Regions from separate parts of the Homo sapiens genome. Here all the other regions are linked to region 1. The links are contacts of gene promoters, found by promoter capture Hi-C in blood cells and fetal thymus (Javierre and others, 2016). All regions are on one chromosome and are shown on one strand. Each heading gives the region's core, a stretch centred on a gene start or on the middle of the fragment in contact. The rest is flanking DNA. Distances are from core to core; before and after follow the strand shown.

The links. The method cuts DNA at HindIII sites, captures the fragments that hold promoters and counts their contacts. A CHiCAGO score of 5 or more calls a contact.
Region 2: a contact is called between a fragment that was not itself captured here and the fragment with the promoter of ALAD in region 1, in 12 of 17 cell types (erythroblasts, megakaryocytes, M2 macrophages and 9 more). The highest score is 15.4, in erythroblasts.
Region 3: a contact is called between a fragment that was not itself captured here and the fragment with the promoter of ALAD in region 1, in 4 of 17 cell types (megakaryocytes, erythroblasts, endothelial precursors and 1 more). The highest score is 7.9, in megakaryocytes.
Region 4: a fragment that was not itself captured here is called in contact with the fragment with the promoter of ALAD in region 1 in 1 of 17 cell types (erythroblasts); the score reaches 5.8 in erythroblasts.

The regions. Positions count from the first base shown.
Region 1 is chr9:113,397,813-113,404,200 of GRCh38, reverse strand. ALAD (aminolevulinate dehydratase) reads left to right here and starts at 2,917. Exons shown (of 12, transcript NM_000031.6): 1 at 2,917-2,989. RefSeq lists silencers at 2,606-2,965, 3,116-3,165 and an enhancer at 3,181-3,761. The HindIII fragment of the contact is 5,410 bases long and covers 172-5,581 here.
Region 2 is chr9:113,288,850-113,295,237 of GRCh38, reverse strand. It overlaps PRPF4 (pre-mRNA splicing tri-snRNP complex factor PRPF4), which reads right to left. Exons shown (of 14, transcript NM_001244926.2): 11 at 4,650-4,772; 12 at 4,431-4,538; 13 at 4,222-4,340; 14 at 2,333-3,771. The coding sequence ends at 3,578. Among named protein-coding and RNA genes, the nearest start is that of RNF183, 11 kb to the left of the region's middle. The HindIII fragment of the contact is 726 bases long and covers 4,219-4,944 here.
Region 3 is chr9:113,315,395-113,321,782 of GRCh38, reverse strand. It overlaps WDR31 (WD repeat domain 31), which reads left to right. Exons shown (of 11, transcript NM_001012361.4): 8 at 205-272; 9 at 1,285-1,426; 10 at 3,146-3,308; 11 at 4,874-6,388. The coding sequence ends at 5,034. Among named protein-coding and RNA genes, the nearest start is that of RNF183, 15 kb to the right of the region's middle. The HindIII fragment of the contact is 3,502 bases long and covers 2,038-5,539 here.
Region 4 is chr9:113,331,846-113,338,233 of GRCh38, reverse strand. WDR31 (WD repeat domain 31) reads left to right here. Exons shown (of 11, transcript NM_001012361.4): 2 at 1,794-1,946; 3 at 6,184-6,327. The coding sequence starts at 6,212. Among named protein-coding and RNA genes, the nearest start is that of WDR31, 5.2 kb to the left of the region's middle. The HindIII fragment of the contact is 4,766 bases long and covers 161-4,926 here.

The DNA.
Region 1 (6,388 bases), core at 1,668-4,167:
CGTCCCAACCCATTCAAAGCTACTTTTGCAGCCTAACCTCCTATTTTTACTGATAGGAAATTGAGGTTCTTCAGAGAGAAGTGACTTGCTCAAGATCTTACCAAGAATTTATGAAAACTGGGATTCTGTTCCAATGACCTTTGGCCTTGCCCCGTTTTTTTTTAATAAGCTTTTTATATTTCAACAGTTTCTCTACTTATGTCCTTTTTCGATTACAGGGGCCAACCCAGAATACCACATTGCATCTAGTGAACTCACTTTTTAAGACTGAGATGAAATTCAAAGAACATAGAATTAACCATTTTTAAATGAGCAGTTCAGTGGCATTTAGAACAGTCACAATGTTGTGCAACCACTACCTCTATCTAGTTTCAAAACATTTTCCTCAGGCCCTGGCAATCAGCAGTCTGCTTTCTTTCTTGTTCCTTTTTTATGCTTTTCACAGCATTTAGCACAATGCCATATACCTACCTAGAAGACACTCAGAATAGTTTAGTTTTAACTTTTTATTGAAACGAAATATACATACTAAAAGACACAAATAAGTGTGGAGCTTAATGAATTTTCACGAATTAAACACAGCCATGTAACTCACACCCAGACCAATAAACATTAACTGCATCCAAAGAAACCTCTTTAGTCTCCCCCTGCCGCCTTTTTTTTTTTTTTTTTTTTTTTTTTTTCTGGAGACAGGGTCTTGCTCTGTCATCCAGGCTGGAGTGCAGTGGTACGATCACAGCTTACCGCAGCCTTGACCTCCCAGGCTCAAGCAATCCTCCCATGTCAGCCTCCCAAGTAGCTGGGACTACAGGTGTCCACCACCATGCCCAGCTACTTTTTGTAATTTTTGTAGAGACTGTTTCGCCATGTTGCCAAGGTTGGTCTTGAACTCCTGGGCTCAAGCGATCCACCAGCCTTGGCCTCCCAAAGTGCTAGGATTACAGGTGTGAGCCACCACACCCAGCCTAATCTCCCTTTCAATCCTCCCCATCTCCCCAGTGGAAATCACTATTCTGAGTCCTAACAACACAGCTTAATTTTGCTTGATTGTGTAGTTAATATAAATGAAATCATATTATATACTATTTTGTGTCTCACTTCTTTTACTCAACAATATGTTTAAGATTTATTCATATTATTGCATTCACAATACTGAAAGATTAAGGTAAAATGTTTCAAAAGGTGGAGGCTGGGGGGAGAGTGGGAACAGGTCTTTCAGTCAAGAAGAAGAAAAGACATGGGGGAAATAAGCTACACCAAACAGCAACATTTTAAAATTTCCCGTTCTATTTGGGTTCTTAGATGGTTCTAATTATTTTTAGTTACCAATAACCTCAGGGAAGGAATGAGTGTCAGGAAAGAAATGTCGGGCAGGGAATCTAGGAAAAAACAAATAATAATTGCCCCTATGGAGTGTGGTTATTAGCAGGCATTGCAGAGAGAGCCCAGTGTAACATGGGGCAAATTATTTAATCTAGCTGGCAATTGTTTTCCCAATCCGTAAAGTGAGAATAGTAACATCGTTGCTGTCAAGATTAGATAAATGAATGTAAAATGCATGGTACTGTCCCTGACTCTTTAATGCACAGCAAACATTATTTGCTTTCTATCCCCTTCCTTGTTGAATACAGATCAGAACTCCAGTAGCTGGAAACTAAGCAGTGTCATATTTCCCTAGCCTTACGCCGCTAGGCCCCTTAAATTTAAAATATAAAGTATACAACAGGTTTGGGGTACAGATTTTGAGAAATTTAAAAAAAAATTTTTTTTTGAGACAGAGTCTCCCTCTGTCACCCAGGCTGGAATGCAGTGGCATGATCTCAGCCCATTACAACCTCCGCCTCCCGGGTTCAAGCGATTCTCCTGCCTCAGCCTCCCGAGTAGCTGGGATTACAGGAGCCCGCCACCACGCCCGGCTAATTTTTTGTATTTTTAGTAGAGACAGGGTTTCACCATGTTGGTCAGGCTGGTCTTGAACTCCTGACCTCAAGAGATCCGCCCGCCTTGGCCTCCCAAAGTGCTGGGATTACAGGCGTGAGCCACCGAACCGGGCTGAGAAATAAAATCTGAGAATAAGTGTAATGTAACCCACTAGTGTCCTCTACATTTGAAAGTCAACTTTTCAATAATCCCTGAAGAACCACCTGAAAGGCATTGCTTCGCTAGGGCGATGATGCCCGATCGCCATTTTACTCATCCAATCCTACTGGTTTACCCAGGCCCCATAAGCCTCACCAGATCCCTCTTGCCTCTGCACATCTCCAATCTCCATAAAGACCTTTGATCGGATCTATCATTGTACCTATCATAGGTCTGATGCCCCTATCAAGACTTGGAGTTTTCCTAAACGCCCATGTCTTTCACATCACATCTCTCAACTCATAGCATTGCCGTACCCTGAGAAATAAATGAAGCTGGTACAAATTTTCTCTGAAAACTTGGAAGCCTGGCGCTGAACTCAACAACTTTAGCTTAGTCCGCAAAAATGGACTTAGCTAATACTGTGTTAGGCATAATGGTGCTGTTTTAACGGCTTTGACATCCAATTATTCTTTCACCAAGCCATTAACCAGAGCCAAGTTTGCCCTAGGCTGGGCAAAGGAATGCTGTGAAGTGAAACCTGGGCTGTAACCGCCTCCGAGGCCGGCTCACACCCAGGGACCCTCCCAAGCGGTTCCTGCGCCCCCTCGTGGCCTCCCTCCTGCAGTTCGCTGCACAAGCGCAGGGCCCGGAGCGGGGACGGGCGGGCCCTCCAGGCCCTCGACACACCCAATTGGCCAGGCCTCGTTGCGTGTGGGCGGGGCCGCGGCTGGAGCGGAGGAGCCCCCCAGAAGACCGCCTTCAGGGGGCGTGGCCTGGACTGTGGAGGGGGCGGACCGTGGGGAAGCTGCTTCCGGGTGAGCCCCCCCCGCTCTTACGCGGTCTGTGGGAGACCGGAGCGGGAGACAGCGGTGACAGGAGCAGCGGCCGGGAGCCCTTAGGGAGGCAGGTGAGCGGGGGCTGGATGCGGGGAGATAGCGGGCCTGGAGGGCGGCTCCAGGGCGAGGCGGGGACTGTGGCACCAAGAGTCCTGCGTCCCCAGATTGTGCTGTGCGCCTGAAGCCCTGGCGGTGCAGCCGTGCACGGAGTCCCGTGGAGCGTTTGTTTGGGCTGGATTATCCCGCTGCAGCCGAGGTTGGGGGCCCGGGTTCGGGGCTCCGCACCTCTTCTCTGGGGTTCACCCTCTCGGATACCGCCTGGGCAGACTCCATCGATGCAGAACCCGAGGTGCGGGTGGTGGTTGGTGGGGGGGTAGGGAGGTGAAAACAATAACAGCCGTTTTGTACTAAGCGTTGCGTGCATTGACCATTCATTTATTTTATTTATTTATTTATTTTTGAGACGGAGTTTCGCTCTTGTTGCCCAGGCTGGAGTGCAATGGCGCGATCTCAGCTCACTGCAACCTCCGCCTCCCGGGTTCAAGCGATTCTCCTGCCTCAGCCTGCCAACTAGCTGGGATTACAGGCGTGTGCCACCACGCCTGCTAATTTTTGTATTTTTAGTAGAGATGGGGTTTCTCCCTGTTGGTCAGGCTAGTCTCGAACTCCCGAGCTCAGGTGATTCGCCCACCTCGGCCTCCCAAAGTGCTGGGATTACAGGCGTGAGCCACCACGCCCGGCCTGACCCATTCATTTCTTACAACAACCCATTGAGGTCGGTTCTAGTCCCCATTTACTAAACGAAGAAACTGAGGTCACACAACTAGAAAGCTACAGAACTAGGATTTGTACCCACATCTATCAGACTCCAGAGCCCACATACTTAACCATCCTGCTACCAACAGCAGCCAGGCCCAGAGTCTGGCTCACCCAAAGCTCTCCACAAGCCCAACCTGCTGGGAAACAGATTTGATATCTATCCTTAAAGTATGGAGGTGTCATGGTGGGCACTGAGGACTGGGCTGCTGGAGACCTTCCCCCAGATCTGCCGCTGACCCACTGCGTGATCCTGGGCCTGTGTCTACCCCTCTCTGAGCCCAGTTTCACCCTTGTTTCAGTGATACAATCAGCAAACTTTAAGAAGACTCTTAGCCAAGATATTCTAGGATTCTGGGAATGGCAGCTTCTCCTACGTCTAAATGGCTAACCCCAGAGGCGATCAGGCTCTTCAAAGCCCCAGGGCAAGGCTGGGGTCTCATTCTTCTCTTTAATCCCTGTGTCTAGCACTTCAGCAGGCCCATAGTAGATATTCAAGAAATGTGGGTTGGCTGAATAAACACTTCATCTCTTTTCAGAACTGCATGACAGCTGCTCTCCTGGGCCTTTGTGGGGCTTTGGATTTCTCAGTTCTGGCCACCTTCTATCTAGCTGGCTCTCCTGACTGCCTCCTCCCTGGCCAGTGGCAGAGCCTGCCAGGGCTGGCAGCAGGTCCTAAGCCTCTGTGCGAAGACCCACAGCCTCTGGAATCCTCAGCATAGTACAACTTGCAGGGGTGGGGGGTGGCACATGAAGCTCATAGCCCCTCCTGGTAGCAGTGCTCAGGGCCCAACTTCAGTTACTCCCAGTTTGGGGATGTTGCCTTCCATGGGAGGAGATACTTTCATATTAAATCTGAAACACTTCTTATCCTTCACTGTCCCCTCTTCCATGAAACCACCCTTGACTCAGAGACACAGTCCCTCTGACAGCACCTGGTCCACCCCTCTACTCTGGCAGCCCGGTGGTGATTATTTTGTTTTTCCTCCACCACATAACCTGCTGGAAGGCAGGGACTCCACTTCAGAAATCTTGGAAAACCCTGTGGCCCACAAGGGTTTGAGCTCATATTCCCATCTGGTGAGGTGCAGAAGGCACAGAGCTGTGCCAGGACATCTCGTTCCAACCCAGCCCCACTCCTAATAGTAATAAAAGTAGCTACATGTTTACTGTGCAGCTACTTGGTGCCAGACACCTACCTTATCCCTATCAATAATCTCCACAGCCTTGCAAGTTAGAGATATCATGCCTATTTTGTAGATTATGAAATGAACACTGAAAGGTCAATTACTTTGCCCAAAATTACACAGCAGAGCATAGACCAAACCTGGGACTGTCTGACCCTGAAACATGGATCTTTCTGCACCGCCCTATACTCTGCGTCCCAGCAAAGCTAACCTGTCTGATGTGGTTGGGCAGAGGTGCTGGACCTCCTGGCGGCTCGCTCCTGTCTTCAGTGTGGTAATGTCACAGGCATTTAAATTGTGGTTTGCAAGCTCGCTTGATTTGGGAGAAGTGCCCTCCCAGTCTGTGAAATTCTCCCAAACTCTAAGGGCCTTTTTGCAAAGCAAAACCCACCCTGCATTTGGCTCTGCCAATATGTGATTCAGGGGGTGTTTTCCCACTCACAGAATGGAGTGGGAAACTCCACTTATTAAGTACCTCTTACAATGGAATGACTCTATGGTGTAGGTATCAGGGCACTGAAATAGAAGCCAGGAGCTGCAGGGTCAGTTTATAGCTCTGTATGTCACTCACTGTGATCTCCAAAAGTCCCGTTGCCTCTTTATACCCCATTTTCCACATTAAAGTGTAAGGGATTAAACAGGATTGGCAATTTTCAAGCTTTTAATATTTTCAGCACTGACAGCCGTTTCTCAAATCAAATCTGTCTCTGAATCTTAAAATTCAAAAACAGATCAAAGTGGACTGCTGTAGTGAGACTGTTCCCTTTACTCTAACCCTGCCCCGGTCTCAGGCTCCTAGGCAGTCCTGCCCCAGGGTTTCTGCTAAGCAGGAGCCAGTTGTTCCCTCAGCCTCCTAAAAGCGATGGGGAGTTGAGGCCAGTGGAATGCAGCTTTGGATTCAGAAGCCAGAAAACAACAGAGATTGTTTGTGGGAAGTGAGTCAGAGAGATTAGACCTCTCTTCAACATCTGACTAGACTCTAGAATGGCATTAAGCAAGTCACTGAACCGCTCAGAGCCTCTGTTTCCTTATCACTAAAAGTTAGGACAATTCTTGCAATGAAATGAGATACTACTACCAAGTACTTCAGTGCTGTGCCCAGCACAGAACGAATACACTCAGTATGTTTTTCTTTTGTTTCTTCTGTCTCTCCAGCACCCAAAGCAGAAACAGTATGGGCAGAGAGACGCCTACTGAATCAGGTGTTTATCAGTATTATGAAATACAGTATATAAAACCCAGCATTTGGAGTCCAGAACAAATTCAAATTCTGGCTCAGTCACTAAGTAGCTATGTGGTCTTGGGCAACTGGCTTACATTTTGGTAATTCTCTCAATATGCAAAAATATTCTCTCGGCCAGGTGCGGTGGCTCACGCCTGTAATCCCAGCACTTTGGGAGGCAGAGGCGGGCGGATCACTTGAAGTCAGGAGTTTGAGACCAGCCTGGCCAACATGGCGAAACCCTG
Region 2 (6,388 bases), core at 3,332-5,831, 110 kb after region 1:
TATTCGGTAGCTCTAGCTTGGGGCAGTCCCATCCTCTTCGAATGTATCTGGAAATGCATGGGAGCATCTTTTGTAGTCAGTGGAGGGGGTGAATTGCACTGCTGACATTTAGGGCTCAGAGGTCTGGGATACTAACACCTGCTGCAATGCTTATGTTGCCAGTTCCACAGGATGAAAGATCATCTAACCAAAAATGCAAATAGCTATCTTGTTGACAATAGGCTCCTCATCCGTTCAGGATGTGCGAGAGTTACTTTAACATGGGCATGAGCTCAGAGATGGAAGTGACTTGTCAAAAGTGCAGTATACAAGCTGGGCACGGTGGCCCGTGCCTGTATCTCAGTTACTCAGGAGGCTGAAGCAGGATGATCATTTGAACCTAGGAGTTCATCTCATCTTTTTTTGAGATGGAGTTTCACTCTTGTCACCCAGGCTGGAGTGCAACGGCACGATCCCGGCTAAGTGCAACCTCCCCCTCCCGGGTTCAAGCGATTCTCCTGTCTCAGCCTCCCGAGTAGCTAGGATTACAGGTGCCTGCCACTACGCCCAACTAATTTCTGGTATATTTAGTAGAGATGGGGTTTCACCATGTTGGCCAGGCTGGTCTCAAACTCCTGACCAAAGTGTTGGGATTACAGGCGTGAGCCACTGCGCCCGGCTGAGATCCCATCTCTTAAAAAAAAAAAAAAAAAAAAGGGTGGGGGGCATTATACAAAGTGGAGAGTCCTTAAAAAGCTCAGACTTCGTACAGGAAACAGGCCATGCTGGCTGTACCGGTCCTTTTGTCTGGCCAGTGTGGGGAACCTGTGAAACCTTCATAAGGTCATCAATGGTCAGATGACAGTTCAAATTCAAGCTCCATCACTTGCTAGCTGGCTAAACTTGAGCAAGTGTTTTTGGAGCCTGTTTTGTCCATAAAAAGGGAATAATAAACTCAAAAGATTGTGGGGATTAAACAAGGTATCTGAATGTGCCTGGTATACCATCTAGGTAGGGACTAAGTGTTCTGTGAAACGGTGGCTGTTTATCTTGCCATTTTCACAAATGCCACACCTGGCTTTGTGCTTCTTAACCACTTTCTTACAATGATGTTTTAATTCCTGTGAAGAAATAGCCCACAAGGTATTTGTTCTGTCAAAGGCTTGGATGAAATGTTTTCACCCAACTGCTACCTCTTGGACCAACCAAAAAACAAAGAAAAACAAGTCGAAGGGAACTAATAGCAAAATTTAAACCTGAGAAACTAAAAATCTTTGTTAGCACATTATATCCAATTGCATGCTAATTCACCAGTGTTCTTCATTATTTTACACATACTACAAAGAAGAAAAAAAGTTCTTTTCATCATAATCTATGAAATAGAATTCATTAATACCTGAACAATAGTGAAGTGAGCAACAGAGGGTAGTCCTGAGAATTCAGAAGCTGAACAACTACATAGGAAATGCAACTATTTGGTTATAATTGAAATCAGATTAAAAACAGTATGTTTAGGTCAGGCACAGTGACTCATGCCTGTAATCCCAGCATTTTGGGAGGCCAAGGCAGGATTGCATGAGCCCAGAAATTTGAGACCGGCCTGGGCAACAAAGTGAAATCGTGTCTCTACCAAAAAATCAAAAAAATTAGCTAGGCATGGTGGCATCCTCCTGTGATCCCAGTTACACAGGATGAGGGGATGAGGCAGGAGAATCATTTGAGCACAGGAAGTCAAGGCTGTGGTGAGCTGTGTTCGCACTACTGCACTCCAATCTCGGCGACAAAGCGAGACCCTGTCTCAAAATGAAACAAAACAAACCAGTTGTTTGGCTATATATCACACATTCAGGGTCCACAGAATAGAGCTGACCAAAGCCATTGTCAACCTCTCTGCAACAGCAAATTAAGTTTTTTTGAGATGGAGTCTTGCTCTGTTGCCCAGGCTGTAGTACAACGGTGTGATCTTGGCTCACTGCAACCTCCGCCTCCCAGGTTCAAGCGATTACATACGTGAGCCACCGTGCCCGGCCAAGAAGCCTTTCTTTAATAACTCTCCTCTGTAGACAACCTTTTCTTCTTCCAAATTCCTATATATTTTTTTGAATTTACTGTGTAATTTGAGAGTTCAGAGGCTGTATAGTTGAGGTGAAAAGAGGTGCATGACAGACAAGTTAAGAATTGTAATTGAGTCCAGGCCTGGCTTACTGGCAGTCTGGCCCAAAATGCAAACAGCCTTCTATTTTAAAAAAAATTGTTAACAAGGTGCTAAGGAGACATAAATCAGAGTAATCCATATTTGAGATCATCCATTATATCCCAAACCAAAAAAAAGAGACCTCTATGGACCAATGGCTAGGATTCAGAAAATGCTTAACTATAGAAAATAATTCTTTATAGGGTAGTTTTGTAACAGGATTTTACCGTAGCAAATGTGGAATAAAGAAAAGGTTTAGGTTTAGGAACACCCATTAGGGTTTTTTCGTTACTTCAACATAAAGTACCCTTTAATACACGAAGTACATCCTTTAAACAGCCAAGAGAAAGGAGGTTGTACAATAGAGACGTCATGTTTGCTTTCTAAACATTTGTTTGACTCCTGACACAATGGTTTTGCTTTGGGGTAACATGAAGGTTGCCAAACTTCAAAGTAAAAAAAAAGATATTTTCTGACAAAGCAAATGTTCAGTTCAGAGTTGCCTGATGCTGTCAGCATTCCAAGCAAACTCAATAGGAAGAGGTGAAGTCTTCTTCACTGTATAACCATCGGCGTGGCTGCGGTCTACTGCTTCACATCCCATTCTCCAGGGAAAGGAAAAGTGCTCGCTATGATGCATTGTTTAACCAATGAGTGGTGAGATGTGCCTCTTTACCTGAGGGCTTCCAGACTATAGTTCAGCCACCTTGCTCTCTGGGTCATATGTAGTCCTGAAGCATGTACCATGTTATGGAAAGCCAAGTTTCAAGAATTAAAAATGCAGAGTCAGTCACAATCCTGGGTGCTGTGAGGAAGGCTATAAGGCATTCGAACAAATTTTTTTTTTTTTTGAGACAGGGTCTTGCTCTGTCACACAGGCTAGAGTGCAATGGCGCAATCTCGGCTCACTGCAACCTCTGCCTCCCAGGCTTAAGCAATCCCTCCCACCTCAGCCTCCCAAGTAGCCGGAATCACAGGCAGAAGCCACCGCGACCAGCTAATTTTAGTATTTTTTTGCAGAGACGGCATTTGCCATGTTGCCCAGGCTCGTCTTGAACTCCTGAGCTCAAGCGATCTACCCACCTCGGCCTCCCAAAGTGCTAGGATTACAGGCGTGAGCCACCACGCCCGGCCAAACAAAAGATTAATAAAAACAATGTCTACACAGTTCGTGGCAGGGCGTAAAAAGGTAATAAATTTTCAACCGTGAGAGGGGTTCCCCATCACCTAGGGATTGGGCTGCCTTCCTGGAGTGGGGGCTGACATGGAAATCCAATTCTACTGAGGGTCTATGCATGGTAATTGGCAGAAAACATGATAGAACTAAACACTTCAATTCTTCTCGTTTGAGGAAAACAGCTCCTTAGAGAGAGCTTGAGGTTCAAGTCCTTTTCCCATTGTCATCTATTCAGCCATCCACAGCTTGAAGGTCCTGTCATATGAGCAAGTGGCTATGAGCTGCCCATCGGAAGAAATATCTAGGCCCATCACTTTGCCTTCGTGGCCAGCCAGAGTCTTCAGCGGGGACCAGCCTGGGTGCGTCCAGATCTTGGCTGTGTTATCATAGGCACCAGTAAGCAAGAAGTTCCCATGGATAGCTACAGGAGAAGAGAAGGGGAATTGCTTGAGGAATTCAAGTATTCAAAAGAGAAGACAAAAGCACAAAAGTCTGCAAAAACATACTATTTTTAAAAAAACTTGTTTCTACAGACTTAAGGGAACAAATAACAGTAAGGTCTTTTGGCTCATTCCCTGACCGAGAATCTATTCAGAATAATATTAAGGACTCAGTGCTCAGAGCATCCATGGAGGAAAGAATGAAGCAAAGCACTCATGAAAGTCTGCTTTACTTCCTGCAACGAGAAGCGTGCTTTCCCACAGATCTAAGGGTATGGCAGAGGGAAGGAAATTATAATTTGCTCCTTTACCAGTAGGTCAATTTCTCTCCTGTTTTACTGCTCAGTTAAGCTAAAGCCTGGCCTGCATTCCACGGGAACACAATACTGTTTGTCTGTGTCATTTAGACGTAAAATAGGAGGAAAGCTTACGCTCAAACTTGACACCAGTCACTAAGTTCTGATGAGCAGGGATGGTGTAGACGCAACGCCGCTGTCGGAGGTCCCACACTTTGCAGGTGTTGTCACCACTGCCGGTTGCAATGTGATAGCTGTGGATTGGATGCAGTATTGAAGTTAGAAATAGAGTACTTACTGACCCAGAACCCTTTTTCGCCCCTCATTCAGTGTGTTTATTTTACCCATTGGGGGAGAAATTTATTCCATAGATTTCTTTCAGGTGGCCTTCTAAGAACATGATACAACGTCCTGTGCGTAGGTCCCAAACTCGACCAAATGCATCCAGTCCCCTGAGAAAATAATTTAGAAATGAACACTTTGAATCCAGTTCTCTGTGGAAGCAGGTATAGGTAAGAGGTGAGAGTACTGAACTGCCCCTGACTACATGGGAGAAGCCTTACCCAGTGCCAGCCAAAGAGCCATCTTGATGGAAGGCAATGTCATACACACCCATGCTATGGCCTTCCTGATGCAGGATCTCCTCTTGAGCCTCCAAATCCCATAAGCGCCATGAACGGTCATAGCTAAAACCAAATCACACTAACAATCAACCAGCTGATATTTATTCAGTTTCTACAACACATAAAGTATTCTAAGCCATTATAGCTTAAGTTATTAATGCTTCTGAAACTATTCATATAACCATATTAACAGGAAGCTCCTTTCTGACATAAACAATGACTCAACAACTAAGCTTATCTGCCTTAGGTGCTAGCTGAAAACCATGGAATCGCTGTAAACCTCTAGGGCTTTTTTTTTTTTCTTCTTTTGAGACAGAGTCTCACTCTGTTGCCCAGCCTGGAGCACAGTGGCGCAATCTTGGCTCACTGCAACCTCCACCTCCCGGGTTCAAGCCATTCTCCTGCCTCAGCCTTCTGAGTAGCTGGGACTACAGGTGTGCGCCACCATGCCCAGCTAATTTTTGTATTTTTCATAGAGATGGGGCTTCACTATGTTGGCCAGGCTGGTCTCGAACTCCTGAGCTCAGGTGATCCACCCACCGTGGTCTTCCAAAGTGCTGGGATTATAGGTGTGAGCCACCATGCCCAACCTAGTGGCTATTGTAATAACAGGATTCCCCAAGAATGGCCCAGCAAAGACTCTGTTACCTTCTTTCTTCCTCCACTGTTATATTCTTTCATTCATCAAGCATTTATACATTTACTAGGCCCTAAATTGGATGTTGGGGATACAAAAATCACTCATACACAAATAGATCAATGGAAGAGAATAGGAAGTACAGAAATAACCACACATATATGGTCAGATGATTTTCAACAAGGGTACTGAAACAATTCCAACAGAGAAAGGAAAGTCTCTTCAATACAAGGTGGTATAACTGACTATGCACATGGAAATAAAGACAAAAGAGACAAACACAATTTAAAAAACCAGGCAAAGCATATGACAGAGCACTCAAGAGCAATAATGATCAGGGTAATAAGAATGAAAATCACGGGAGATCACTACACACCTGCTAGATTGGGCAAAATGGTAAGACTGACAACACCAAATGTTAACAGGGATGTGAAGTAACCAGAACTCCGGGAATGTAAAATGGTGTAACCGCTTTGGAAAACTGGTGGGGAGTTTAGAAAAAGTTAAATATACATCTCATACCTCTACCCTATGACCCAGCAATTGTACTCATGTCCACAAAAAGCCTGGTACAAGAATATTTATAGCAGCTTCATTCTGACTGGCCCAGACCTGGAAACAGCCCAAGTGTCCATCAACAGGAGAATGGATAAACTATGGCACAGTCATAAAAATGAATAACCCCCAGCAATAAAAAGGAATTACTGATACATGCAACAACATGAATGACTCTTAACAATGTTATGCTGAAAGAAGCCTGCCACAAATGAATTCACAGTATGAATAGACATAATTAATTTGTGGTGATAGAAGTCAGATCAGCAGTTGCTTTAGAAGGGGGAGTTGGCTGGAAAAGGGCATGAGGGACCTTTCTGGGGTGATGGACTATTCTCTATATTGACAGAGGTGTCGATCACAGGAATGGTACGCGTTTGTAAAGACTGACAGCATTGTACACTTAAAATAAATCCATTCCATTGTATGTAAATTATAACTTAATGGAAAAGTTCTCTAACAGATTCTAGCCTCCCTGAACTTACAG
Region 3 (6,388 bases), core at 2,539-5,038, 83 kb after region 1:
CTGTTATCTTGCTGCTGATAACCTAGGAGATGCAGGTAGAGCATGACTGATAGGTATCTGCAAAACCTAAGATGCCTGTAAATGAATTTGCTAGTTCAGAATCCTTGAGAAGAGGCACAGTGATGCTAGTTAGCACATTTGACAGGAATTACAGCAGAGGAATGACTTGGTGTGGAGAAGTTCTGAACATTTTGCTTTTTCTAGGTCACTCACCTGTGCTGGGTCCCCAGAGAACCATACATACTACAGACCTCTGAAGATAAAACCCTCAGGTGGGCTTACTGAGCAGCTGTGAAAGTGTTTCTTGTGAGGTTTGTGGCTCCCATGCATACATGGCTCCATTCCCACTCTGATTCTCCACATTGCTCTGCCCTTCCCAGAGCCTTCTGTTCCTCTGCCCTTCACTGGTGCTGGGGCCTCTCTGCTTTGGCCCCATGGATCATTAAGGTAGAGGTTGTGTGTCATGAGATCAGGCCAAGTAAAAGCCCCTGTTTTGGATGGTTCCAAAGCATCTGATTCAGCCAGCTCCTGCTGTGTGAAGGTGTTCAGATTAACCCCAGAATCAGTCACTTGCTTGTCCCACCCTGTTGGGCTGCCTGGCTCTCCTTGCTACCCCTGCATGGCTCCTGGTGTTCTCAGTCACCCAGCCTTCAGCTGAAGCCCTCCCTGGGGAAGCAGGGTTGAAATCAGCATCAGGGGAGTCAGTAAAGCCAATAGTTCTTAGACCGGAGAGGATAACTAGAAACTTTGGATCTCAGAAGAGATTCTCCTTAGAAAATGGTAGGAATGGGGTAAAGAGGTAAAAATGAAATAAGAAGCAAAACAAAACACTCCCCAGTGGACCCCATAGCCAAGGCTGGCCATGACCTGTATGTAAATCTTTTGTAACTAATTCTGAATGATGACTGATTTCCCATATCATAATAAGTATCTTTTTAAAAATTTAAGTCACAGGCACAGAAATATCCTTTTGTCCACGGAAAGCAGTGTCTCAAAGGACCAAATTAACAAATTAACTTGTACAATTAAGATGCTTGGTCTCAATTTCTATTAACTGATCTCAAAATAGAAAGAACTCAGATGTCATTCAATTTGGTTACTTCCTGCCAACTTTAGAGTCTCAGAGATTGATCTGGTTCATGCTGCCGTTTTTAGGTAAATCATGCCATTCCAATCTGACTGGCCTATGCAGCAAAGAGCCAAGACTTTTTTGGTAGTGGGACAATACGGGTGTATTTCAGCCACATTTACTACAAGCTAATTTCCTGCCCTAATCTCTTTCAGATTATGGGACAGTCGGGGGCTGCAGGTAGCTCATATGTTTCCTGCAAAGCAGCACATTCAGACCTACTGTGAAGTCAGTGTGGATGGACACAAGTGTATCTCCTGCAGCAATGGCTTTGGAGGAGAAGGCTGTGAAGCCACGGTAGGAGACTGTGTGAGGTCCAGGTATCTGGTTGCTGATGAACAGATCACTTACTCTGGCCTCATGCCTGTAGCTGTGCTACACAGGCGGGCTTTGCTAATGGCTCAGGCCTCTTTCAAAAGCATACTGTGAGTGATCCTTTGCATTCCAGTTGCTTCATTTAAGAAACATTCATAGGGGAGGCCAAGGCGGGAGGATTAATTGAGCCCAGGAGTTTGAGACTAGCTTGGGCAACAGAGCAAGACCCTGTCTCTATAAAAAAATAAAAAGTTAGCTGGGCATGGTGGCATGTGCCTGTAGTCCAAGCTATTCAGAGGCTGAGGTGGGAGGATCAACTGAGCCTAGGAGTTTGAGGCCAGCCTGGGCAACAAGGGAGACCCCATCTCAAAAAAATAAAGAAAGAAAATAAAAGAAACATTCATCAACTTAGGGCTCTCTGAATTGGTAGTAGGAAAGAGGAATGGGATGAGAGTCAAGATGGGGAGGAGCTAAACACAGAACCAGCCTGCTGATGTCTCTACTCCCAGCAGAGCTTAGAGAGGGGAGGGACTGTTTGAAGAACCAGATTTATTCCCATTATAGGCGTGGCCACAGTAAAAGAAGCTCAAGCTTTTTAGGAAATTTGGAGCTCTAGTGTTGGTCCAGGGCCTACTCCATCCCTTACTCATGTACCTTCCTTACATTTAATTTTGGAATAGATTGCCTAGGCTCCTCCAAAGCACCTTAGATTCATAATTGTAGAATATCCATTAAAAGGGTTATCTAGTATTCAAACAGAACAATTATGCCTCCTATTTTATTGAACATTTCTTGTGTGCTGGGCACTGGGATGAGCACATTACATGTAATATCTCATTTAATCCTTAAAAACAACCCCATGAGTTAGGTACTATTATAATTCCCATTTCACAGACAAGGAAATAGAGGCATGGCAAGTTGACATCTCTTGCACAAGACCACATCCCTAGTAAATGGTAGATTGGGGTGTTGCAGCCTTTGAATGTAGCATCTCTTTTCTAAGTGAAACATTTCCAGCTCCTACAGCTATTCCCTGGATAACATGCTGTCCAATAACTTCATTATCTTTTTGGACATAATTCAATTTGCTCTCCTCCCTGAACATTATTCTCCAGCTGTGATCTGATCTGTATCAATGAGAGTGGGACTGGCAGCACTGACTGGCACTTCCCTCTTGTAGACGCTAGTCTTCACACATCAAGGTTCAGCATCTAGGCATTAAATCAGAATGTCTGCACCTAGATGTACTTATATCTATGGGGTACTTCTAACTACGGGGTCCCCACAGGGCCCACAGATGCCAAGAGGTTGAAATAAGGCAGCTCTTGAGTTGCCATGAAAGCAAACAACCCCATACTGTTGTTTGGGGCTCCCCATGGGTTCCCCATGATGGAACACCATCATGCTGTAGGACTGGGAGCTTTTACTTCCCTAACCACTAAAAAGGCAAAAACTCATATGACACATTCTTAACCAGGGTTGTTTGAGACATAGTTGAGGCTTAAAATAATCACTGGATGGATGGGTCATTGGGTCTGTGGATGGATGGGTTGTTGGGTCTGTGGATGGATGAAGATAAGGGGTAGCTACGTGAGCAGGTAAGTGGAGGGAATAGGTGCATCATGGGGGTAGGGGGAGATAGATATTCATGGATGAAGCTAGACAAGTGACTATGAGCTGGTCCATGTCATTACTTTGCAGTTGTGGGACCTAAGACAGACTCGAAACAGAATATGTGAGTATAAGGGGCATTTCCAGACTGTCGCATCCTGCGTCTTTCTACCAAGAGCATTGGCCTTGATGCCTTTAATTGCTACCTCATCACATGATTGCAAGGTGAAGATTTGGAACCAAGATACTGGAGGTAAGCAGCCTGCTGTTAGTTCTCCTCAAAAGATACATGAAGTCCTAAAACCTTCTTTAAAACTCCTTCTTCCCATTGCTCAGCATTACAAAGCCACCCATCTTCTGCCACTGTCCAGTCTCATGCTTAAGAGGTGATGTCAAGATGCTATCCCCTGTATCCCCTGGTACCATGTTGTATAGACTCATTCCTGAGAACTCACGTAGATTTGGCTCTTACATTCTTTCTACCTGAAGTTCTTCATCAGATTCTAACTTGTGACACTCAAAATATTTGGAAAAGAGAACAAGAATTGTGACTTTTCAAGTCTTCTTTCAAGGACTAAAATGAAAGCCCCAGCTCTTGGTGAGGGTAAGGGGGAGTAAGGATACTTTCAGAAAGTCTCTGCCCTGTTTTGATTCTGTAGCTGAAGTTTAAGAACACAGTAAGCTCATAACATTTCAAAGCATCAGAGAAAAAAGATGTCTTATGCAACCCAGCTCCCCAGAGTCCTGGATCTGCTGGATGGAGCCAGCCCCTGCTGGCCGATTGTTAAATATTCAGGATTTTTTGTGAACTGGTTTTTAAACCTTTGGTAGCCTGAAATCTGATCATGATGGAGGTATTTACATGATGAAAATTAACAAGTGCTATGAATCGGTGGTGGTGGTGTTTTCTCTTCCAGAAAGCTGGTTTACCAGCACCCCACTGCCTCCATCTATTCTGTCCTGGACACAGGGTTCTGCCACAGACAGAAACAGCATTGCCTTAAAGAACTTTAAACCAAATCTGTCCTACAACAGTCTTCTAGAACTCAGCTCCTCTCAAGGGAGACAGGGTAGTTCCCTCAGAGAATAGAGGCAGGACCATGTCTTGTGGGCATTCTGCAAACAGCTGTGGCCACAAGCCAAACTTCCATAGTAAGGACAGCCTGCTGTACTGTTACCTGGAGTGGCTTCTCCAGCCACTCAGGTGTAACTGTTGCTTGAGGAAAAAGAGCAGATGTTTTAGACTTAATGATCATAAATCTGACCAGGGAGAACGAGATCTGGAAATGTTGACCTGACCAAGTGGCACAGATTCCCTGCCCACCAGGTATGCGCCTGTAGTTTTTAGAAGAGTGGCCTCTAAGATGCAGATGGAGGGAGATGGGTCAGCTGAAACCCCCAAAGACTGCCTTTCGGGCTCTCCCATTATCCTCCATCTCCAAGGCATCAAGACCCCAGGAAGCCAGCAGCTAAAGATCAGTATCCTTGTGTGTTTTTCCCTGCCTGGGCCCTGCTTTATTCTCTGGGCAGGTGACTGAGGGCACCTTTGTAACATGTCTTTAGCCGGTGAGACCCCGACACTTCTTGGTGATGGTATGCATCCTGTTTGGCCCGTGTGCCATTCTCTACCATTGAAGTCATGGAGTTGGCCCAAGTTCTGACCTCCCTGGTATGCTTTCCTCTGAAGAAGTGGGGTCTCTCTCATACGGGTTAGATATGTACAGCAAATGCTTTATTTCCTTGCATTTCTCATGAAGACATCACATTTCATGATGCTACACTCTTGGCCTAATCTGCTGGTCCCCCTTTCCCCCCCAGCCTGCCTTTTCACCTTGTCTCTGGATGGATCAGGACCCTTGACTTCTCTGGCTGTTGGTGACGCCATCTCCTTATTGTGTGCAAGTTTTAACAGAGGAATTCACTTACTCAGAATGGACCACAGCCAAGGGCTGGAACTGCAGGAAGTGGCAGCATTCTGAGGCCAAGAGACACTCACTGGACAATATCAAACCATGGCTCCTCCTCAGCATGGCTTTGTGTCTTTCCCAGTTATCTTGAGGGGAGTGGGATGTAGGGCTGGTATTCTTTGCTTAGGTTCATTTACAAGATGTATCAGTGTTGTAAGTCCAATAATTTAAGTCCAGTGATTCAAAATCAGGTATAGAGTCCAGAAACATGGACTACACATAAGGTTCTCTATTTAAGTTAAATACAAATGCAACTTTTTAGTGAGCTTTTAGGACTACTCTTCAAAAAAAGTGTATTGCTCAGAATGATGACCTGTAAATGTAAGAGTGGCAGGCCTCTGTCTGTGAAAGTCAGAACACAGGGCTCGAGCCTCTGGAACTGACCCTTTGCAAGTCTTTACAAAAGAAAAAAGGCAGTGGGGAGAGAGAGTGTTTTGGTTACATCAGAAATAATTGAGATGGGAAAGAATAGTGCAGCTCCATAGAGGAGACGGACTGTAGACAATGAGATTAAGCTTCAATCACTGCTCCTCAGCAATGTGAAGAATCAAAGTCAGGGCAAGAAAGCGAAAGCTTGGACTTCTATTCAAAGTGGCAGCAGAGTGGGAGGGCGGTACCCTTCTAGCCCAGTGCTGCTGAGCTTGTGTGAAAATCAGACCTGAGATGGCTTGAAGCAGCCAAGAACCACATGGGCATTGCCCAGAATTACAGGAGTTAGCACACCAGCTCTACAGATAAGAAAACATTGAAATTCAAAGATTAAGGCCAAAAATATCTCACTTGCAATTTTAATATTTTCATTTGGATTTATATAAATGAAACATATATATGTTTTGGAATGGCCAGAGTGAGGCAAAGGGGATCCCTGAAATAACATTAGAACATACAGGAAAAACGAGGCAGGCAGATCACTTTAGGTCAGGAGTTCAAGACCAGCCTGTACGTGCGTGCCTGTAGTCCCAGCTACTCGGGAGGCTGAGATGGGAGAATCACTTGAACCTGGGAGGCAGAGTTTGCAGTGAGCTGAGATTGTGCCACTGCACTCCAGTCTGTGTGACAGAATGAGACCTTGTCTTGAAAAAAAAAAAAACAAAAAACCACATACAGGAAAAAAGAGAGGGATGGAGTCAACTGTGCCCCAGACATTAAGCCCCCTTCAGTGAGGAGGGGCAAGGTGCTCAGGCCTGCCTGTGTGGCCCCCAGGAGTCAGACCTCAGCCTCATGCTCACTGGTCCATTTTCCTCCAGGGAAAATGGAGTTCTTTCTGCCTTCAGAGATGCCCACACATAAGGCACATGAGGCTGTTGGTGACACCATCACCAACACTGGAGATTCCCTTTCTGACAAGTCCCAGCCAAAGAAAGAT
Region 4 (6,388 bases), core at 1,294-3,793, 66 kb after region 1:
GTATGTGTTCTCTGTGTATATTTGTGCATTAATATTTGTGCATTATGAACAGTATTAACAAGGGTGAAAATGCTGCTTCCAGTATGATCACTGTTAATCTTGCAATCATGCTAGTAACCATAATTTATTGTTAACAACTTGCCAGATTGAACCAAAAGCTTTATATGCACCAGCTTTTGTAGAGATGCAGTATAATATGCTGGTCAAGAACAGGGCCTCTGGAGTTGGACTGCCTGGATTCAAGTTTCAGCTCTGCCACTTATTTGCAGTATAAACTTGAGCAAACTATTTGATATCTCTGTGCCTCACTTTTCACATCTGCAAAATGGCCATACAGGTTGAGTATCCCTTATCTGAAATGTTTGGGACCAGAAGTGTTTCAAATTTCAGATTTTAGAATATTTGCATTATATACTTAAGGGTTGAGCATCCCTAATGGAAAACCTGAAATCCAAAATGCTCCGATGTGGCTGGGCACGGTGGCTCATGCCTGTAATCCCAGCACTTTGGGAAGCCTAGGTGGACAGATCACTTGAAGTCAGGAGTTTGAGACCAGCCTGGCCAACATGGTGAAACCCCATCTCTACTAAAAATACAAAACTTAGCTGGGCATGGAGGCACACACCTGTAATCGCAGCTACTCAGGAGGCTGAGGCAGGAGAATTGCTTGAACCTGGGAGGTGGAGGTTGCAGTGAGCCCAGGTTGCACCACTGCACTCCAGTCTGGGCAATATAGTAAGATTCTGTCTAAAAAAAAAAAAAAAAAAAATCCAAAATGCTCCAATGAATATTTCCTTCGAATGTCATGTCAGTGCTCAAAAAGTTTTAGATTTTGGATCATTTTGGATTTTGGATTTTTGGATTAGATGCTCAACCTGTAGTAACAGTATCTCAGAGGCTTGTGGAATAGATAAAATGAGTTAATAAATATAAAACATAGAGCAGTTCCTGGTACCTTTTAAGTGCTATTTTTAATCTTCACAGAAGTCAATGATAGAGTTATTATCCTATTTTACACATAGGAAAGTGAGACTTAGAGAGGTTCAGCAACTTGCCCAAGGCCACAGTTGAGCTATAATTCACAACTAGTCCTATCTAATGCAGACACTAATGCATTTAATGAAATGTTGTTCTGACTATTCTGTGCTGCCCTTAATTCTCAGAATAAGCTGCACTGTCAATCAATATTTAGAATTTAATTGAATTCTTAAAATTGAGTTATTAAAATGCAATAAAGCTGTTTATTCTTTGTAGACATTTATAATGGAAATTCTGGACTAGAAGTCAAGAGATTTACTTAGTTATAATTTTGAGCAAATAATATTTCTATCCTTATTCTGCAGATCTTTCAATAAATGGTCTTAGTTATAATTTTGAGCAAATAATATTTCTACCCTTACTCTGCAGATCTTGAAATAAATAAATGGTTTATATATGGTGATTTTGAAAAGCTCTCCCATCTCAAATTCTAGGAGAATTATTTAAAACAGGAGAAATTGCCTTTTTCACAAAAGCAGTAAACTCTGAAATAAGCAGTCAACTCAAGATTTTTGATGAATAGAAGTACTATGTTATGAGCAAAATCAAAATGTTTAACAATGTATTTAAATATATTTTGCATATTTAAAAATAGATATATAATTAACACTATAGTATACTTTCCTGAATTGTGGAAATGTGAGAGAGATAATCTTGGAATTTTGTAAAATATTTCTTTCTTTGTGAGGGAAAACTACACCTAACCATCTCTTTAATAAACAAGGTCTTTATTTACCTTGTAAATCTCTTTTCAGTGCAAACATGCTTAGACAGAGAAGAGATTAACTTCAGTGGCTTCCCACTAATTACAGAGATTAAGAAGTGGCTGCCTGAACTATTTTCCAAAGGATACACATTACAAATTATTGAATAGGGCAGCTAACCAAGAAGATCCTATTGGTTTGGGGGTAAGTAATTCTAAAAGTTATCTTTTCCTTAGAATGTCCCATGAATATGGTTTACTTGGGAAGTATGGCTCTCTGACTATACCAATCAGTTTTGAGCAGAGCTAATCCATTTATAGCATCTGCAATTTCCAGTGACCTAGATCTATGAATGGCATCTGTCATTGGTTTGATGACAATGTTGAAAAATAGGTTAGGCTGGCAGATAAGAAGCCCTGCACCCTCTATCTGTAAACAATACCACATCCCAAACTTTTTGAAAACTATCCTGAATTTTGCCTCTCAGCACATCTTGTGGCCTCTTATAGAAAATCCTGGAATATCTGAAGTGGAAGGGACCTTAGATTTGCCACTTCACAAGTATTTTTGTTGTACAGTACTGTGCAAGCCACTTGGGGTACAAAGATGAATAACGAGAGACCTTCTCTCATTATACACATAGTCTACTAAAAATCATTTCGTATAGTGTCCTAATTTTCTAGCTGGGGAGGCTGAGGCCAGAGTGGGGAATGGAGCTACTCAAGGACACATAATGGGATGAGGCAGGGCTGGGGTAGATCCTAGGCCTCTTGATGCCACTCACATTGTTTCCATTGCATTGTGCTTTTCTGTATTGGTTACCTATTCTCGTCAGGAAGTCAATTCTAGCAACTTCTCAAAATGTAGGCTGAAATTCTTCTGGAAAACTCCATTTTTTTAATGCTAATGGTATGAATGAGAATATTAAGTTGGTGCGTTTTAGCTGCTGTTCTCTTCTGTAAACAGTTCTTCCTGTAGACAGTTCTTCCTAGAATTAGGTTGGTCATGCCCATAAGAAACTTATTTCCTAGAACTTTTAGGCAGAACCTCAGAAGAAATGGGGACTGGGTGCTCCCACTGCCCCCCATACTTCCCTCAGCTATCTGATATCACAGCCAGTCGCAGGGGACACATGACATGGAGTAGTTGAGACTGGTCCTTCGTTAGGTTCCTTCGGTCCCAGCAAATGTTCATGCTGGTCACATCTTCAGGTTTCTCTTTTTTTCAGTTTCACCAGCAACTGGTATAGGACCTACACAAATAAGGTGCTTAGGAGGTGTTCCCTGAATGAGTGGAGGAGCACCTTTGAATGCATAATTCATTCTCTTTCTTTTCAGTTCTAGCCTCGTTAGTTGAGGGGGATGATACAAGTAAATCTGGAAAATGTTTCATTATTCTTTTAATTCTAATATATAATCCAATATTAACATTATTTAAATTCTAAGTCACTGGCTCTCAAACTTTTTGGTCTCAGAACTTCTTTTCACTCCTCAAAATTAAGAACCCCCAAAGAGGTTTTGTTTATGTAGGTTATAGATTGAGTTCGAATCCTGCTCTGCTACCATCATTTGACATTAAAACTGAGATTGAATGCCACATGCAGGGTTTGTTAAATTTAAAAATAAATAAATGAGGCCAGGTGCGGTGGCTCATGCCTGTAATCCTAGCACTTTGGGAAGTCAAGGTGGGTGGATCACCTGAGGTCAGGGGTTTGAGACTAGCCTTGCCAAAAAATGGTGAAACCCTGTCTCTACTAAAAATACAAAAAAAAAAAAAAAAAAAAAAAAAGCCTGATGTAGTGGCGCATGCCTGTAGTCCCAGCTACTCTGGAGGCTGAGACAGGAGAATCGCTTGAACCCAGGAGACGGAGGTTGCAGTGGGCTGAGATCACGCCATTGCACTCCAGCCTGGGTGACAAGAGTGAAACTCCGTCTCAAAAAAATAAAATAAATAAGTAAATTAATTAATTAATTTTAAAAAACAAATTTTAAAGACATTTACTTATTAATTTTGAAATAGCAATAAACCTATTGCATATTAACATAAAACATCATTTTATGAAAAATAAATATACTTTCCAAAACCAAAATATTTAATTGGAAGAAGTGGTATTGCTTTATGTTTTTGCAAATTTCTAATGTTTGCCTTAAAAAGGAGACAATTGGACTCTGATATCTGCTTCTGCATTCAGTCTATTATAATCTATTGTTTATGTTGAGGTATTAAAAGAAAAGAAGGCCCCACTTTGGGAGGCCAAGGCACGTGGATTGCTTGAGCCCAGGAGTTGGCGAAACCCCGTCTCTACAAAAAACACAGAAAAATTAGCTGGGCATGATGGTGCAAGCCTGTAGTCCCAGCTCCCTGGGAGGCTGAAGTGGGAGGATCACCTAAGCCTAGGAGGTTGAGGGTACAGTGAGATCACACCACTGCACTCCAGCCTGGGTGATAGAGTGAGACCCTGTCTCAAAAAAAAAGAAAGGAGAAGGAGAAGGAAAAAGAAAGAAAGAAGAAGGAGAAGGAGGAGAAGGAAGAAGGAAGAAGGAGGAGAGAAAAGGAGAGGAAGGAAGGGAGGGAGGGAGCGAAGGGCCTCACTGAGAGATGTGGTTGGAAAACAGAAGTCCTCCCAAACTCCCTGAAAGGCTCTCAGGAATCCCCCATGTTCCATGGATCACACTTTAAGAACTGCTAGTCTAGGTCATTACCTACATTGTCTCATTTAGTGGCATTATTTCTAGCATCTCAGAACATCTATTTCATGATTCTGGCACACTGAGAGGTGCCATAGTGAAATTATTAAAAAAAAAAAAATCCGGCCGGGCGCGGTGGCTCACGCCTGTAATCCCAGCACTTTGGGAGGCCGAGGCGGGTGGATCATGAGGTCAGGAGATCGAGACCATCCTGGCTAACAAGGTGAAACCCCGTCTCTACTAAAAATACAAAAAATTAGCCGGGCGCGGTGGCGGGCGCCTGTAGTCCCAGCTACTGGGGAGGCTGAGGCAGGAGAATGGCGTGAACCTGGGAGGCGGAGCTTGCAGTGAGCCGAGATTGCGCCACTGCAGTCCGCAGTCCGGCCTGGGCGACAGAGCGAGACTCCGTCTCAAAAAAAAAAAAAAAAAAAAAATCCAACAACCAAGGAAGGTTATAACCTTTTAGAATAACTGAGGCTTTTCTTTTTCAAGAAGCTTCAGTAGTGTAAATTATTTTTTATTTTTGATTACATCTTCTTAGTATTTATTTTATTGTGGCAGAGTGCACATAACATAAAATTTATGATTAGTGACATTTAGTATATAGAGACATTGTTGTGCAACCATCATCACTATCTAGTTCTAGAACATTTTCATCACTCCAAAAGGAAACTCTGCCTCTTTGTTTGTTTGTGTTGCTATAAAAAAATAACTGAGGCTAAGTAGTTTATAAAGAAAAGCAGTTTATTTGGCTCATGGTTCTGCAGGCTGTATGAAAAGTGTGACGCAGGCTTCTGTTTCTGGTGAGGGCTCAGGAAGCTTCCACCGTGGCAGTAGGCAAAGGAGAGCAGGCATCCCTTGGCAAGAGAGGAAGGAACCAGGTGAGGAGGGAGGTGCCAGGCTTTTTTAAAACAATTCGTTCTTGTGGGAACTAATAGAGTGAGAACTCACTAATTACCAGGGAGATGTCACCAAGTATTCATGAGGGATCTGGTCACATGACCGAAACACCTCCAACTAAGCCCTACCTCCAACATTGGGGATCAAATTTCAACATGAGATTTGGAGGGGACACATATCCAAACTATATCTAGCCTATTAAGATACTCTGTATTACATTCTATCTGTATCTATTAAGTAGTCACTCCCCAGTCTCTTCCTTATTCCAGCTCTTGCCAACCACTAATCTGCTTTTTGTCTCTATAGATTTGCCAACTATGGATATTTCGCATACATAGAATATGAACTGTGTAGCCTTTCATGTCTGGCTTCTTTTGCTTAGCATGATGTTCTCAAGATTCACCCATGTTGTAGTATGTACGAGTACTTCATTCCTTTTAATGGCCGAGTAATATTTCATTGTGTGGATTGACCACATGATGTTTCTCCACTCATCTGTTGATGAATATTTGAGTTGTTTTCACTTTTTGGCTGCTGTGAACAGTGCTGCTGTGAACATTTGTGCACAAATTTTTGTTTGAACATCTGTTTCTGTGTTTTTGGCCTTAAACCCAGGATTAGAATGGCTGGACCGTATGGCAATTCTGTGTTTTACTTATTACAGGACTTCTTAGTCTTTTTTAAAATCAGTTTTGTTTTTGTGTGTCTGCAACCTCAGGGCTGTAAGTGTGAAGCAGGGTGAGGAGGAAAAGCAAAAGCATACAATTAATTAGTCTAAAAAAGGATTTATTTTCAACATCATACTATTGTGCCTAACAAAATTAACAACATGTATTCTTCTTTTTATTAAACAGGGAACACAACTTCCAGCAGCCACAAGGGATGCTGCTACTCAGGTGCCAACTGAAACAAGCTCCTCCACAGAAGGTTTCGTTTAGGTTTTGTGTCGTGATGGGGAAACAGCAAAGCAAACTCAAACACAGCACTTATAAATACGGGTACTGCAATCCTCCCCTGGGAGCCCAGGTTTTATCATGCCCCATTAAAACTCTCCACTGA